2 separate regions of the Homo sapiens genome follow, and region 1 is linked to region 2. Evidence: promoter capture Hi-C in 16 types of primary human blood cells and fetal thymus (Javierre and others, 2016). All regions are on one chromosome and are shown on one strand. Each heading gives the region's core, a stretch centred on a gene start or on the middle of the fragment in contact. The rest is flanking DNA. Distances are from core to core; before and after follow the strand shown. Region 1 overlaps UBTD2 (ubiquitin domain containing 2). Region 2 holds the start of EFCAB9 (EF-hand calcium binding domain 9).

Evidence for each region. Contacts are between HindIII fragments. The CHiCAGO score rates a contact against its expected background, and 5 or more counts as called.
Region 1: a contact is called between a fragment that was not itself captured here and the fragment with the promoter of EFCAB9 in region 2, in 1 of 17 cell types (activated CD4 T cells). The highest score is 5.0, in activated CD4 T cells.

Annotation. Positions count from the first base shown.
Region 1 is chr5:172,264,873-172,269,890 of GRCh38, forward strand. The region is part of intron 1 of UBTD2 (ubiquitin domain containing 2); the gene reads right to left. Among named protein-coding and RNA genes, the nearest start is that of UBTD2, 16 kb to the right of the region's middle. The HindIII fragment of the contact is 665 bases long and covers 2,434-3,098 here.
Region 2 is chr5:172,190,629-172,195,930 of GRCh38, forward strand. It overlaps EFCAB9 (EF-hand calcium binding domain 9), which reads left to right and starts at 3,544. Exons shown (of 4, transcript NM_001171183.2): 1 at 3,544-3,680. The coding sequence starts at 3,545. The HindIII fragment of the contact is 7,932 bases long and covers 726-5,302 here.

The DNA.
Region 1 (5,018 bases), core at 1,516-4,015, 73 kb after region 2:
CTCAAAAAAAAACACAAACAAATGAAAACAAAACAAAAAAAATTCAGAGAATTCTTAAAAGTTGTTGTCATTACTTCCTATTCATACAGTACTCAGTATAGGCTGCACATGAAGCCTGAATTTCTGCTTCATTCAACATAAGCACAGATCAGCCCAAGGGCAACCTAAGTCCACTGGGCTGAATAGGCTATACATGCAATTAATACTCTGTTCACCTCCAAAGCAAGTCAAGTCACCAATAGGTTTGCTAAGGATGACAGAATAAAATACACAAACACAAAATAAGTAGGAAGCTCTTAACAAGCAAATTAGATCACTGCCTCCTTTCACCAGGCAAATAAGAATCTGAGTTAATTACCATGAAGAGTCTCTCTAAAGATAATAGGCTTCTGTACAACTAAGGAACCAGTCAGTAATAAAATAATTTCACCCAAAACCGAAACGAAATAATTAAAGCCGAGTAGTAAACTTTTTTTTGAGACGGAGTCTTGCTCTGTCACCCAGGCTGGTGGAGTGCAGTGGCACGATCTTGGCTCACTGCAAGCTCCGCCCCCTGGGTTCACGCCATTCTCCTGCCTCAGCCTCCCGAGTAGCTGGGACTACAGGCGCCCACCACCCCGGCTAATTTTTTGTATTTTTAGTAGAGACAGGTTTCACTGTGTTAGCCAGGATGGTCTCGATCTCCTGACCTTGTGATCCGACCGCCTCGGCCTCCCAAAGTGCTGGGATTACAGGCGTGAGCCACCGTGCCTGGCCACTGAGTAGTAAACTTTTCATTCTCCAAATGATAAAAGAGCCACAACTGTCTATTCATTATTTCACTTATTTACTCGAGCAACAACTATTTATTGCAGATGTACTAGGCACTATACCAGATACTAGGGATATAGTAAAGAACAAATCAGACAAAACCCTTGCCTTCACAGTGCTTACAATATTCTGGGGGAAGACGGGAAGCATATAAATAAACAAATAATTTCTAAAAGCAACTTTTTTAAAGCAAGTGGGAGGGGCATGCTAGTTTTAAGAACTGTAATAAAAAACACCACCCATTGTTTTTTTTTTTGTTTTTCTTTTTTGAGACAGAGTCTTGCTCTGTCACCCAGGCTGGAGTGCAGTGGCATGATCTCAGCTCATTGCAACCTCTGCCTCCCGGGTTCAAGCAATTCTCCTGCCTCAGCCTCCCGAGTAGCTGGGATTACAGGTGTGTGCCACCACACCCGGCTAATTTTTGTTTTAGTAGAGATGAGGTTTCACCGTGTTAGCCAGGCTGGTCTTGAACTCCTGACCTCAGCTGATCCACTCGCCTCGGCCTCCGAAAGTGCTGGGATTACAGGTGTGAGCCACCGCACCTGGCCAGCACCACACATTGTTTAGATTCCAAGCAAAGGAAACAGCACGAAAGCCCTAAGATGGGAAGAAGCTGTGTGTGAGTCACTGGATGTAAAGACTGCATCGGTATCCCACTGGTTTCATCTGAATCTAATCCATTCTTCATAAGCAACAGTCAGATTTTTAAAAACACAGCAGAGCAGGCACCAGACTTTACCTACCAGGTCCTTCTTGGCATGCCATCTATTCTGGTTCCTACTTCACAAGCCACAGCCAAACTGTCAAACACATCTCATCCACCGGCCCCTTTTCCATGAAGTACTTCCTGTCTGAATTTCCTACGGTTAAACATAAGTCTGTTCCAATTGGAGGTGAAGAGATGTAATATTTTATGCCCAAGAGAGGAATGAGAAAAGTAATGTCAGGTGAGAGATAGGGAGAGTAGGCCTAATAGTGCTAAGTTGCATTTCCAGCTTCAAATGGGCTAAGAGGTAAGGTTCACATCATAAACAAACAACTTCACTTACAGTACATTAAGCAGCCAAAAGTTGGCCGGCTGCAGTAGCTCATGCCTGTGATCCCAACACTTTGGGAGGCCCAGGCAGGGCAGATCACTTGAAGCCAGGATTTCAAGATCAGCCTGGGCAACAAAACAAGACACCATCTATACAAAAAAAATTTAGAGATCAGCCAGGTGCAGTGGTGTGCGCCTATAATCCTAGCTACCCCAGAGGCTGCCTGAGGCAGGGGATTGCTTGACCGCCCAGGAGTTTGAGACTGCAGTGAACTCTGATCACACCACTGCACTCCACTAGGTAACAGAGAGCCTCTCTTTAAAAAAAAAAAAAAAAAAAAAGTTTTTTCCTAGAATCTTACCGTATGATTTTAAAAACTGGTTCCAAAGAACCCAAGAGAACAAAAGAAACACCTGCTTCAGAGATCCATAAACACAACTGAGATTACTCTGTAAAACCTATTTTTGCTATTTTTAAGAACTATAATAAAAAGTTCCACAAATGTTAAGTTTCTAATATGAAGACCATCATGAGACATGTTAGCTTACGCCACCAGGTCAAAATGATTGTAAAGGCATTGGAATGAAGCTTTTCTTGCCATCTTTACGCATATATGAAATTTAGGAAACTTCCTGCAAATGTGTTACTGACTGGGAAAACCACAGGTCTGCATGGTGTCTTTTGTTAATACAGGCATGTATACATCCAGTCCCGTAAAACTGTACAAGTGAGCACATTAACACAGTACATGGATGTCTAGGTTCCACTAAATGTCACAGCAAGCTCAGATGCATCTGCTCAGTATACGCTCTCATCAACACGAAGTAAATAAACAATACTCGGAGAAAATATAACTTAAGTCATAACACTGCTTGACATGACGTGTTTAACTTCTGAGTACAGCTGATGATGTTGGTGATTCAAACTTAAAATCTCCTACAGAACTTTATGAGACTCTAAATCATGTTTAAAAATTTGTGTACCAGGACTTTACTGATTCCACACCATCAAAATAAAATATAAAGAAATCAAATGCTGAGGCTATGTTAGTGTTCAATGTCAGATTTAAAAAAAAAGAAGATTCCATGTTAATGTCTGAATCTACTGATTTCATCTAACATACTTAAAAACGAAAGCTGGGAAGTCAACTGACTTATTTAAGGTCATAAAGAAACGGAAGATGAGTGGAACACTCAAGGGTTCTTCTGACTCCCAGATCTTTTCATTATACTATATGGTCCTATTTAACAAAGCTTCTGTTCTAGAACTAAGAAAGGCTTCTATTAAGAGCATATTATTTTCTCTCCAATGCCATTATAAAGTCAAAGATGTGTTCCACACAAATGATAATTGATCCTAAAGCATTATGAGAGAACCAGTCTCTGCCCCAGGTCCAATGCAGCTTACATTGTGCGAAGATAAGTAATGTATAAAAATAGCCATGATAGAAGTTTTTTTTTTTAAGTAGAGTGGAGAGGATAAGTACTATAAGAATAGTACTAAGGAAGTTCAGAAAACGGCAGGATTATTTCTGGGTAGAAAAATGAGAAAAACGCTCAGAGTTGGTCAATAATGAAAGATTATCCTAGTTGGAACGTAGAAAAAGAGAAGTGGGCAGAGTGTGGATCTACTGTAGCCTGGAAAATAGTTCAACCGTCCTCTGTAGAATTAAATCTACCTGATTTCCAGGGAAAACAGAGGCTACAGCACACATTAAATGATACAAGGCCACATTCAGACAAATCCAGATTGTGGTACATTCTACAAGACTCTTCAAAAAGTCAATGTCGGCCGGGCGTGGCAGATCACTTGAGGTCAGGAGTTCAAGACCAGCCTGGCCAACATGGTAAAACCCCGTCTCCACCAAAAAATAGACAAATTAGCCAGGCATGGTGGCGCACACCTGTATTCCCCAACTACTCAGGAGGCTGAGGCAGAAGAATTGCTTGAACCCAGGAGGCAACGGTTGCAGTGAGCAGAGATCATGCCACTGCACTCCAGCCTGGGCAACAAAGTGAGACTCCATCTTAAAAAAAGAATGTCATAGGGAAGAAGAGGAGGAGGAGTTCTGGATTTTAAAAGATTGAAGTGACAAATGCAATGTCTAAATGCTGATAAGATCTGATTTTGGGGAAAAAAACCCAGTTATAAAAGACATTTTGAGGACAATTAAGGGATTTGGACTATGGACTAGATCTCAGAGGACATGAAGATATAATAATCTTTCTTAGCAGTGATAATGGTACTGTGGTTACGTAGGAGAACAGCTTTACTTTTAAGAGATTCACATTGAAGTGTCATGATGTCTATATTCACTTTCAAACAGTTAAGTGCAAAAAAAAGAGATACAAAGGAATATATATCAAAAAAGATATATAAATATGACAAAATATCATTTGTTTAATATAGGTGACAGGCGTTCAAGGGTTTCTGTACTAGAGTCTTCCAACTTTTCAGTATGTTTGAAAATTGTCATTTAAAAAGTTTGGGCGGGGCGGGGTGGCTCATGCCTGTAATCCTAGCACTTCGGGAGGCCAAGGCAGGTGGATCATTTAAGGTTAGGAGTTGGAGACCAGTCTGGCTGACACGGTGAAACCCCATCTCTACTAAAAACACAAAAATTAGCCAGGCAGTAGTGGTGTGCGCCTGTAATACTAGCTCCTTGGGAGGCCGAGGCAGGAGAATCACTTGAGCCTGGGAGGCGGAGGTTGCAGTGAGCCGAGACTGCACCACTGCACTCCGGTCTGGGCAACAGAGTGAGGCCCTGTCTCAAAAAAAAAAAAAAAAATTAAGTTTGAAAAAAAGAATTAGATGTAACCTTGGTAAAGATGGTCTATCCATCCACTCCTTTCAACAATGAAAGAAATTGAGTCGCACACAGCTAATGGAGGCCTCTTCTCGTAACAAGATTAAAACCCAAGCGGTCTGAAGAATCTTAGACCAAACTCTTTCCATATGCCAGAAAATTGGGAACTAAGAGACACAGACTGATTCTGTAACAAACATATACATGTGCATGTAAAAAAAAAAAAAAAAAAAGTTAAACACATTTTTTTTTTCTTTAAGAGTCAGGGTAGGCCAGGCACGGTGGCTCATGCCTGTAATCCCAGCACTTTGGGAGGCCGAGGCAGGCAGTTCATGAGGTCAGGAGTTCGAGACCGGCCTGGCCAA
Region 2 (5,302 bases), core at 2,294-4,793:
GCTGAGGCAGAAGAATCACTTGAACCCAGAAGATGGAGGTTGCAGTGAGCCGAGATCGTACCATTGCACTCCATCTAGCCTGAGCAACAGAGCAAGACTCCGTCTCAAAAAAAAAAAGAAAAGAAAAAAAAAAAATTGGTGCAAGAAAGAAATATTCACTGGAAGAAATAAAAAATGAAAAGAGAACATCAGATTAGATACTGTAGAAATTTTGATAATCATAAAGTGATATTTTAGACAAATTTATGTGAATAAATGTTTTAATTTACATAAAATGGGTAATTATTGAGAAGAAAATATAAATGATAGGTAAAAGATAATTTCAATAAGAAATAAAAACCTAAATAAACTAGTAACCAATAAAGAAATCAAATCAAGAATCAGGCCGGGCACAGTGGCTCATGCCTGTAATCCCAGCACGTTGGGAGGCTGAGGCGGGTGAATCACCTGAGGTCAGGAGTTCGAGACCAGCCTGGGCAACATGGTGAAACTCTGTCTCTACTAAAAATACAAAAATTAGTCGGGTGTGGTGGTGCGTGCCTGTGGTCCCAACTACTCATGAGACTCAGGCACAAGAATCCCTTCAACCTAGGAGACGGAGGTTGCAGTGAGCCGAGATCACACCACTGCACTCGAGCCTGGGCAACACAGTGAGACTCTGTCTCTAAACAAAAACAAACAAACAAAAACCCAAAAAACAACAACCACAAAAATCAAGAATCAAAAGCTTGTTCTTGGTGAAAGACATCAGTCTGTGTGGTTTTACAAATAATTTCTTTCTTTATATAAATTATTTTAAAAGATAGAAAATGAAGGAAATCTGCCAATTTATTTTATAAGATGAGTTTTACTATTACTAGATAAGGACAGTAAAAGAAAATTGTAAGCCAGGCACAGTGGCTTACACCTGTAATTCCAGCACTTTGGGAGGCTGAGGTGGGAGGATCACTTGAGCCCAGGAGTTCCATACCAGCCAGAGCTATAAAGTGAGACCCTGTTTCTACAAAAAGTCAAAAAATTAGCCAGGCGTGGTGGTGCACACCAGTGGTCCCAGCTACTCAGGAGGTTGAGGCAGGAGGATTCCTTGAGCCCAGGAGGCCGAGGCTGCAGTGAACAGTGATCTCACCGCTGCACCAGCCTGGTCTCCAGTGAGACCCTGTCTTAAAAAGGAAGGGAAGGAGAGGAAAGAGAGAGAGAGAAAGAAAATTGTAGACTAATTTCATTTCATTTTTTTTTTTTTTTTTTTTTGACAGAGAGAGTCTTGCTGTGTCGCCAGGCTGGAGTGCAATGGTGTGATCTCACCTCACTGCAACCTCCACCTCCCAGATTCAAGCGATTCTCCCGCTTCAGCCTCCCAAGTAGCTGGGACTACAGGAACGTGCCACCACGCCCGGCTAATTTTTGTATTTTTAGTGGAGATGAGGTTTCACCATGTTGGCCAGGATGGTCTCAATCTCTTGACCTCGTGATCCGCCCGCCTCAGCCTCCCAAAGTACTGGGATTACATGTGTGAGCCATCACGCCCGGCCTAATTTCAGTTCTTAAAAAGACAGGGAAAATACAAATGCTAGCAAGATCAAACCAGAGGTGAATAAAAATATCGTAACCACAAAAGGTTTATCCAGGAATAAAAGAATGGTTCTACATCAGAAAATCTACTGTAATAGCACTGCATTGGCAGAGTAAAGGAGAAAAATCACATAGTCTTAATAGTCACAGAAAAAGCATTTTATAGTATTCTTAGGTTGGATTCCCTTAGAGACTGACCCTGAGGCAAGGATTTGAGTGTAAGTGGTTTATTTGGGAGTGAGTAGGGAGTAGAAAATTAAGACAGAGGAGGGGCTGGGCACCATGGCTCACACCTGTAATCCCAACACTTTGGAAGGCTGTGGTGGGAGGATAGCTTGAGGCCAGGAGTTCAAGACCAGCCTTGGCAATGTAGCAAGATCCTATCTCTACAAAAAATACAACGTGGTAGCACATGGGCATAGTCCCAGCTATGAGGAGGTGGAGGTGGGAGGATAGCTTGAGCCTGGGATTCAAGGCTGCAGTGAGGTATGACCATACCACTGCACTCCAGCCTAGGAGACAGAGTGAGATCCTGTCTCAAAAAAAAAAAAAAGAAAAAAGAAAAAAAAAATTAATGTCAGGGCACAGTGGCTCATACCCGTACTCCCAGCACTTTGTGAGGCCAAGGCGGGTGGATCACTTGAGGGCAGGCATCAAGACCACCCTGGCCAACATGGTTAAACCTCATCTCTACTAAAAATACAAAAATTGGGCTGGGTGCAGTGGCTCACGCCTGTAATCTCAGCACTTTGGGAGGCCGAGGCAGGCGGATCACAAGGTCAGGAGATGAAGACCATCTTGGCTAACACGGTGAAACCCGTGTCTACTAAAAATACAAAAATTAGCCGGGAGTGGCGGAGTGTGCCTGTAGTCCCAGCTGCTGGGGAGGCTGAGGCAGGAGAATGGTGTGAACCTGGGAGGTGGAGCTTGCAGTGAGCCGAGATCGCGCCACTGCACTCCAGCCTGGGAGACAGAGCGAGACTCCATCTCAAAAAATAATAATAATAAAAATAAAATAAAATAAAAAATAAAAAATAAAAACAAAAATTTAGCTGGGCGTGGGGGTGCATGCCTGTAATTCCAGATACTCGGGAGGCTGAGGCAGGAGATTCGCTTGAATCCAGAAGACAGAGGTTGCCGTGAGTCAAGACTGTGCCATTATAGTCCAGCCTGGATGATAAGAGTGAAACTCTGTCTCAAAAAAAGAAAAAAAAGAGGCAGGGCTCAATGGTTCAGACCTGTAATCCCAGCACTTTGGGAGGCCAAGACGGGCGGATCACAAGGTCAGGAGATGAAGACCATCCTGGCTAACGTGGTGAAACCCCGTCTTTACTAAAAATACACAAAATTAGCCGGGCGTGTTGGTGGGCGCCTGTCGCCTGTAGTCCCAGATACTCAGGAGGCTGAGGCAGGAGAATGGCGTGAACCCGGGAGGCGGAGCTTGCAGTGAGCAGAGCTCGCGCCACTGCACTCCAGCCTGGGTGACAAGGCAAGACTCTTGTCTCAATTAAAAAAAAGAAAAGAAAAAAGAAAAACTTCCTCTCTTTGGCATTATTATACTGTAGTTATTCTAGGCTCTTTTAGTACTTTTCCATGTGTTTTTCAATTTTTCTTCTTTCTAATAAATGATTTAGGCTATAAATGCTCTGAAAACCACTTGGGCTGTGTAGCAGTTTTCCTATGTAGCACATTCTCTCATTCATTTCTGAACAGCCTGTGGATCTCCTTTAGAACTGATTGTATTTTAGTGACATAAGGATAATCACGTTACCAAGAGGTTTCGGACAGCAGATATCTATCTATAGCATAGCTGGAAAAATTAAGAAGCAGCAATTTTAATTTTTGACTGTTTCCTCTGACGTGTTTACCTTCACTGCTGCCAGATCTCAGACACTATATCCAACATTCTACTTCTGAGGCAGGGTTCTGTATTCTATTTCTGGTTGCCAGAGCCTTCAGTTGACACAGTACTAAGATGAGACTGAAGCAAGGATCGTTTCTGTGGTACCTCTATCTGGACAAAATATACTGCTTATTATCCGTGAGAAACGTGAAGGCTTTGGCAGAATATTTTCATATTCTGGACGTGCACGGCAAGAACACCTTGAATGGTCAGTACTTTCAGACATGTCTCCTCTGGGTCCTTACCTGGGTTTTAGCTAATGTGTAAGAAAACTTGCAGAGCCAGAAACTATTTTGTTAGTACATTTTTTTTTTTTTGAGACGGAATCTCGCTCTATTGCCCAGGCTGGAGTACGATGGCGCGATCTCAGCTCACTGCAATCTCCGCCTCCAGGGTTCAAGCAATTCTCCTGCCTCAGCCTCCTGAGTAGCTGGGATTACAGGTGTCTGCCACCACGCCTGGCTAATTTTTTGTATTTTCGGTAGAGATGACCAGACCATGTTGGCCAGGCTGGTCTCAAACTCCTGACATCAGGTGATCCACCCGCCTCCGCCTCCCTAAGTACTGGGATTACAAGTGTGAGCTACCACACCCGGCCTGTTAGTAAATATTTTATCTTCTAGTTGAAGCACAGAGAGAAGTTGCCAACTCAGAATTGACACGGGGGACAGTTCAGCCGGGAGGAGAAAATTGCAGACTCTGGTGGAATCCTGGCTCCACACCCATTATTCCTTGGTGATGTGGATAACACGTCATCGCCCTCTCTAAGTCTCATTTTCCTCATCTAGAGGTGAGGCTTCTCATAATGGAGTCCATCTCATAGTTGGAAAAAAAAAAGATAATGAGAGTATGGCAAATGCTTAGCACAGTGTCTGACACATCGTAAGGACTTAATAAGTGTTTGTTATTATTGTAATTATTATTCTTGGGAGCTGAGCCCCACTCAGGCATTAACTCTGGAGACCCCTCAGCAAGATTTATCTGTCATGTGGGAAGTTTGAATCTGATGAGCTGCAGGATCCCTTCTACTTATTGGTACTTGTGAATGACCAAAAATAAATAAATAAATAAATAAATAAATAAAAATAAATAAATAAATAAATAAATATAAAAGCTGCAGATCTCAGCCATGCTTGTTGAGTTCACAAACTAATAGAAGTCCAATTAAACACTTGAGGTTATTTTTAGGACTGAGTAGAAATAAGGTATCCTATCCATTCACTCGTTCTGACCTCAGAGAGAGAAATGTCATCCGTGAGTAAGGGGTTCCTCCGTCATGATTTTAAGGAGTTCATTCAATTTTTAAAAACAATTAAAAAAGAACACCTTCTTTCTCTCTTTACATAGAGATTTATGTACAGTGCATTGCCAAATCTTCGCAATAACCCTGCCCTAGATAAGGCAGCTGCAGGGGACCTAGTTGTAAATAAAAGGCTGAGATGGAAACGCAGGGCTCTCTGCCTGCAAAGCCCATGCTGAGTCTCTCTGGGATGCTTGAGGAGTTTAAGCTCCCTGGTAACCTCCCTGCTGATGCAGTACCCAGGAGGTAACGCCATGCTCATGTCTTCTGGTCACAGAGGGACTGGAGAGTGACCTGGAAGGGTGAAGGCACAGCCTTAATGTTTGCCTTCCTGTGGGGGAATGACTTAAGGTTTTGGAGACTTGGGTGAGCCAGAGTCCACCGGTTTCAAAACAGTCTTTTATTTATTTATTTATTTATTTATTGGGACGGAGTCTCGCTCTGTCGCCCAGAAGTGCAGTGGCCCAATCTTGGCTCATTGCAACCTCCACCTCCCGGGTTCAAGTGATTCTCCTGCCTCAGCCTCCTGA